Linked DNA regions of Homo sapiens: region 1 is linked to region 2. The links are contacts of gene promoters, found by promoter capture Hi-C in human tissues and cell types (Jung and others, 2019). All regions are on one chromosome and are shown on one strand. The core of a region is centred on a gene start or on the middle of the fragment in contact, and the rest is flanking DNA. Distances in the headings are between cores, read along the strand shown. Region 1 holds the start of LINC02936 (long intergenic non-protein coding RNA 2936). Region 2 holds the start of RABL2A (RAB, member of RAS oncogene family like 2A).

The links. Contacts are between HindIII fragments. The study calls those that stand out against the background at their distance.
Region 1: a fragment that was not itself captured here is called in contact with the fragment with the promoter of RABL2A in region 2 in 2 of the 25 tissues and cell types used here (mesenchymal stem cells and spleen).

The regions. Positions count from the first base shown.
Region 1 is chr2:113,701,659-113,705,266 of GRCh38, forward strand. It overlaps LINC02936 (long intergenic non-protein coding RNA 2936), which reads right to left and starts at 2,516. Exons shown (of 3, transcript NR_186169.1): 1 at 2,039-2,516. It also overlaps a transcript of SLC35F5 not described here. The HindIII fragment of the contact is 3,230 bases long and covers 1-3,032 here.
Region 2 is chr2:113,625,979-113,629,184 of GRCh38, forward strand. RABL2A (RAB, member of RAS oncogene family like 2A) reads left to right here and starts at 1,288. Exons shown (of 9, transcript NM_001306158.2): 1 at 1,288-1,422; 2 at 2,576-2,735. The coding sequence starts at 2,629. It also overlaps the pseudogene RPL23AP7. RefSeq lists a silencer at 1,048-1,357. The HindIII fragment of the contact is 9,827 bases long and covers 1-3,206 here.

The sequences.
Region 1 (3,608 bases), core at 168-2,667, 76 kb after region 2:
AAAGGAGCCATGGAGCAGAGCTACAGATACCCACAAGGGAAATGTAATGTAAGAGAGAAATAAGCTTGTAGTATTGCTGTGATTTGGAGAGTCCTTTGTTACTGCAGTTTAACTGCCTAAGCCGACTGATACACAGTATTTCACAATTTGCTTTTCTAACTCTATTTCCCATTATTCCCTAACACTTATTCCAACTCCTGCCAGACTGAACTACTTGCTTTTCCCCAAAGACCAACAAATTTCTCCAACTCGATGCAGTTATTTGCTTCCTATCTCCTGCCTGCCAACAATACCTCTCAAAGTTTAATTTCAACCTTCAAGTTCATCTCAAGCGCTACTTTCTCTGTGCAGGGGTGTCTGATCTTTTGGCTTCCTGGGCCACACATAAGATACACTAACACTAATGATGACTGGTGAGCTAAAAAAAAAAAAAAAAAATCTCATAATGTCTAAAGAGAGTTTATGAATTTGTGTTGGCCCACATGCAGCCTGCGGTACACAAGCTAGACAAGCTTGGTAAAAAGCCCTTCCCCATTCCTTTGATGCCAACTACTGTAACCTATGTTTATTGTTTTTACATATTTTCTTATCACCTCCGCCAAGAAAAAAATCATAAACTCCTTGACATTAAAGACTATCTTATTGGCCAAGTGCAGTCTCTCACACCTGTAATCCCAGCACTTTGGGAGGCCGAGACAGGCGGGATCACTTGAACTCAGGAGTTCGAGACCAGCCTGGCCAACATGGTGAAACTATGTCTACTAAAAATACAAAAATTAACCAAGAATGGTAATGTGCTTCTGTAATCTAAGCTACTTGGGAGGCTGAAGCAGGAGAATCACTTGAAACCCAGGAAGTGGAGGTTGCAGTTAGCCGAGATCACACCACTGCACTCCAGCCTGGGAGACAGAGCAAGACTCTGTCTCAAAAAAAAAAAAAGACTATCTTACTCACCACTGTATTCCTTGAAGCTTTGCAAATAGTAGGTATCCACTCAAATATTTATCAAATTAGCACATTCAATTAGAGAACTGCTGTTTAATATGTTTACTTTTTTACAGGAAGATTTTAAAGAACATTTAACATACTCATTGGGGAAGCAAAATTAAGATACAAGAAGAATTAAAAATCATAGCAAATAGCAAAGATTCCTACTGAGTAAAATATGGGCCAGGCACGGTGGCTCACATCTGTAATCCTAGCACTTTGGGAAGCTAAGGCAGGCAGATTGCTTGAGGCCAGGAGTTCGAGACCAGCCTAGGCAAAATAGCAAGACCTCATTGCTACTAAAAATCAAAAAACTTAGCCAGGCTTGTTGGTGTGCACCTGTAGTCCCAGCAACTTGAGAGGCTGAGGTGGGAGAATCACTTGAGCCCTGGTAGTGGAGGTTGCAATGAGCCAAGATCATGCCACTGTACTCCAGCCTGGGTGACAGAGCAAGACCCCATCTCAAAAAAATAAATAAATAAAAATAAAGTATAACTCAAAGTTTAATGAATCTCTTTCTCTCTCTCTCTCTCTCTCTCTGTAAAAATAAGCATGTCTTGACCTTCATCTCTCTCCCTGGATATACTCAACAGATCTTAAAGTAAAACTTCACCAAAGGGAAACAATGTGTCACACGACTCACGAGTTACAACCCCTATTGTTACAGTCCATATGCTAAAAGCAAGGATTTTTCTAATTATGGAACAAATTAGCTTATGTAAATTCTTAGGCGTAGGAAAAATGTATTTCCCTGCTTATGATTAAAAGCCAACAAAATATAATTCCAATTTTAAAACAAATCCCCTTACCAAACCCCAACAGCAAAGTGCTGCCCCTACAAACCTCACAGCAAATAGAGAGTCCTTATTCTCAGTGACTAGCAGCTGCCTCTTTTCTCACTCCTCTCCAGCTTCAATTAACCTAATGCCCTCTGAGACATTTTGGCAGTAATTGCAAAGCTTCTTCCGGTTTGGGAATCTAATTTAATTAGATTGGCGAGACTTGATTTTAGATGTTTCTCCTCAATACCAATTCAAAACTTAATACTTACTTTGCTTTTGTTTCCTGGTAATAACTGGTTTACGGCCCTGAGAAGAAAAACTGGGGCCAATAAAACAAGCTGGATTAGCCTGGTTCTTCACTGACTCCACAATTGGCCTACCATTTGTGCAAAGTCCACTCCAGGAGAAAAATGCTTTGAAGGTGGGACTCTAACATCCTAATGTGTCCGGACTCAGTGGGTTCTCGGTCTCACTGACTTCCAGAATGAAGCCGTGGCTCCTCGCGGTGAGTGTTACAGTTCTTAAAGGCGGCATGTCCGGAGTTGGTTCCTTCTGATGTTCGGAGTTTCTTCCTTCTGGTGGGTTCGTGGTCTCGCCGGCTCAGGAGTGAAGCTGCGGACCTTCACCGTGAGTGTTACAGCTCATAAAGGCAGTGTGGACCCAAAGAGTGAGCAGCAGCAAGATTTATTGCAAAAAGCGAAAGAACAAAGCTCCCACAGCTCGGTAAGGGAACCCCAGCGAGTCGCCACTGGGGGCTCGGGCAGCCCGCTTTTATTCTCTTATCTGGCCCCACCCACATCCTCTGATTGGTCCATTTTACAGAGAGCGAGTGGTCTGTTTTGACAGGGCGCTGATTGGTGCGTTTACAATCCCTGAGCTAGACACAAAGGTTCTCCAAGTCCCCACCAGAGTCAGGAGCCCAGCCGGCTTCACCCAGCGGATCCCGCACAGGGGCCACAGGTGGAGCTGCCCGCCAGTCCCGCGCCCTGCGCCCGCACTCCTCAGCCCTTGGGTAGTTGATGGGACTGGGCACCGCGGAGCAGGGGGCGCTCTGGCCACACAGGAGCCCACGGAGCTGGGAAGGCTCAGGCATGGCGGGCTGCAGGTCCCGAGCCCTGCCCCGCGGGGAGGCAGCTAAGGCCCGGCGAGAAATCGAGCGCAGCGCCGGTGGGCCGGCACTGCTGGGGGACCCGGCACACCCTCCGCAGCCGCTGGCCCGGGTGCTAAGCCCCTCATTGCCCGGGGCCGGCAGGGCCTGCCGGCCGCTCCGAGTGCGGGGCCCGCCGAGCCCACACCCACCCAGAACTCGCGCTGGCCCGCAAGCACCGCGCGCAGCCCCTGTTCCCGCCCTCGCCTCTCCCTCCACACCTCCCCGCAAGCTGGGGGAGCCGCCTCCGGCCTCGGCCAGCCCAGGAAGGGGCTCCCACAGTGCAGCGGCGGGCTGAAGGGCTCCTCAAGTGCCGTCAAACTGGGAAACCAGGCAGAGGAGGCGGGGAGAGTGAGCGAGGGCTGTGACGGCTGCCAGCACGTTGTCACCTCTCACTAATCCAAAGACTGAAGATTAATTGTTGGCCAATATTGCTTCCTTTGTGGATCCGTATCAGTCTAGTATAGAGAACACTAGACTGACAGTCAGAAAATGTGAATTTTGTCAGCAGCCTAGATGTTAAGAAACATGGGGCATATAAGGGTGGTCAGGTAATTTAATGTCTAAACTATGACACTTTTGAAACTGAAAGGGGCACTATTCATGATTGTCCTAGGACAGCAGGTAGAAACTGGGACTGTCCTTGGCAAACCCGGACACCTGGTCACCCTAGAGACCCTTGAAAAATGATG
Region 2 (3,206 bases), core at 38-2,537:
GAAGCAACGTACTTCTTACATATATTGATTGATGTCTCATGTCTCCCTAAAACCAAGCTGTGCCCTGACCACCTTGGGCACATGTCGTCAAGACCTCCTGAGGCTGTGTCACGGGTGCACGTCTTTCTAAATTACCTGAAACCATCTCAGATAGGGTTCACACATCCCTTTCCCGAACCCTCCCAGGAGCCCCTCGTGGGCGCCCAGGTCCTGCCTGCTGTTGTGGCCCAGGCTCACCTGGAGCAACTCGACTCTTCGTTACAGCCTCGTGAACCTTTCAGTTCCTAAAGCTGTCTAGCCTGTGAAAGGAAAATGAATCTGGGGGCCCCAAAATCACTAAGCTAAAGGGAAAAAAGCTGGGAACTGCTTAGGGCAAACCTGCCTCCCCATCTATTCAAAGTCACCCCTCTGCTCACTGAGATAGGTTAATATGTGATAGCCTCCTTTGCGGAGGCTATTCAGAAACCCGAAAGAATACAACAGTTTGTCTCTCACCTACCTGTGACCTGGAAGCCCCCTCCCTGCTTCGAGTTGTCCCGCCTTTCCCGAGGGAACCAACGTTCATCTTACATATATTGATGTCTCCTGTCTCCCTAAAATGTATAAAAGCAAGCTGTGTCCCGACCACCTTTGGCACATGTCAAGACCTCCTGAGGCTGTGTCACGGGCGTGCGTCCTCAACCTTGGCAAAATAAACTTTCTAAATTGACTGAGACCGTCTCACATATTCGAGGTTCACAAGCCCATGCATGGGGACGTCCCCTGGGGTAGCGCCCCTCCTCCACTGAGCTCACTCGCTTCCTCCTTGTGTGTTTTCTTCAGAAGAAATTTCACAGCTACTTGGTCCACACCTGTCTGCCCCACAGGAACCTCTCTTCTCCACAGGCACATGGGCGGCGTACCTGCTGGGCTGTGTGGAGAGGACCGGGTTCCTCTCCTGATTCCTGCTCAGTTAATAACGAATGTCGACAAGTCGAGAAAATTGCTCAAATTTACCCCATCAAAGAATTAAAAACTGGTGAAAGCTTGACCTGCGCCCCCCACCCCTGACGTGCTCACCGCTCCACTCCCTCTAGGCGGGCGGCACCCGCTGAAGCCTCAGTACCACACCCACAGCCAGGAGCCCCAGTCCCGCACTCGGCCGCATGCGCACTCCCTGCGGCCCTCCCGCCAGGCGCCGCGCTGGGCAGCCAGCGCCCCGGCGGGGTCCTTCAGGCCTTCGGCCGGGCAGCCTCCCTCGGGGTCCTTGCGCGGTTGCGTAGCAGCTGCGAGGACGCGGGGCGAGCCGGAAGTGGAGTGCGCTGCGGTGCGAGCTGGGCCGGCGGGGTGGTTCGAGAGCGCGCAGAGTCCAGACTGGCGGCAGGGCCCGAGGGGCCGACCCGCAGCGTCCCTGGTCTCTCCAGCCCTCACTCGGAACCGCACGTGAGGGCAAATCCGCCCCGGTGGCTGGCTTAGCACGCGGGGACAGCCCCTCCGAGGCCTCCCTAGCGGTGTGGGCGAGAGGGCGTCCGGGTCGGGGGAAGCACGGAAAGGTGGCTTCGCGAGGCTGTTGTGGGGGGCGGGACGGGCAGCCTGGCGATGCCTGGACATGGTTGGTGGCCAAAAACATTTATCGAAAGATAGCATACCCACTTAGATGGCGAGGACATCGACAAGCAAGTCTTCGCCCGTAAGCGGTGGCTCACGCCTATAGTCCAGGGATGCCGAGGAGGGAGGATCGCTTGAGTCCAGGAGTTGGAGGCTGCAGTGAGCCGTGATCGCGCCACTGCACTCCAGCCTGGGCGACAGAGTGAGACCCTATCTCTAAACAAAAGAAAGAACGTCTTCAAGCATGGAGCCATGAAGCTGGATTTGGCTTTCTGTCGCTCTCTCTACAGGGTACAGGTGAAAGGGGGCAGACCCCTCATCATGCTTTCCAGGCATCTGCCACTTCCCAGGAATTGTCTCCCTGGATAAACAAGGCGAAGTCCCTGGCTGTGCAGAAGCAGTAGCTGTGTGGTGGCACAGTCAGGAAAACTCGGGGGCCCTGTTGGTATTTTCTACCCCTGACCCGTGTGCATACTTCTGTCGTAGCTCTCACCACAGTAGACTCTGCTATCATTGTGTCTTCCATCCTCTGAACCCTGTGCAAGGTCTGCTCATGGTGAATGCCCAGTAAGGCTCACCTATTGCTGCTATCTCATCATCATATCATTTCTATGTGCCCCCCTAGCTAAGAGTCTGGACTGTGGTTACATTCTCAGGAATGTCTGCAAAGTCATATTTAGGTGTGAGGAGAGTAAAACAGAGCTAGACATAATGTTGCACACAGCCTTTGGCACTGGATGCCTGGTGAATGTCTTGTGCAAATGGGTAACGTGAGGAGCAGCATTTGGGGTGCGCAGGACTTAACTATTTGTGTATAACATATTACTGATGCCTGTGTGTCATCCTCTGCTACTCCAAGTCTAGTAGCCAATTGCATACCATATCTCAGTCTGGCACTGAGGGAAGCAGTCTGGATGGAGGTACAGCTGGAGATTTGGTTGAGGGGACTTATCTCTGACAACAGCCTCTTGTTGATCTTCCCAGACAGTGACAATACCCTCCCCTCCCTTGGGCTGGACCCCTCTCTACAGCTAGGAGCCAATGGCAGAAGACAAAACCAAACCGAGTGAGTTGGACCAAGGGAAGTATGATGCTGATGACAACGTGAAGATCATCTGCCTGGGAGACAGCGCAGTGGGCAAATCCAAGTATGTTGGGAGATTAGGGAATAAATACCAGCCCCAGAGAGGGTCCAGGTCATTTAAAAAGTCCTCCAGAGGCAGAGGAGCATGGCTTCTTGGGGCTGGTGAAGGAGCAGTCTTGGCTGGAGCCCAGATGTTCATGGGGGAACGAGGGGAATCACATGACCCGTTGTGTGTGTCGGGTGGAGGGGGCAGGTCATAAGGACTGAGGAATTTGAATGTTTCCTCTGAGCCCTGAGAGAACGTGTGGAGCAACTGAGGACATTGTATGTGGTTTGTGGGCTGAGGGATGGCAAGGGCGGGGAGTGGGAATGGAAAGACAAAAGTGACTATGCCACCGTGACAGATTGGGTAAAGGTGGTAAAGATGCTTTCTTGGAGGGACTCTCTGAAATAGAGAAAACTGGGTAGAACTGACGATTGACTATAATCATTGTGAAGACTGGCTTCTTCTTGTAATGAATTTCGGTGCCTACAT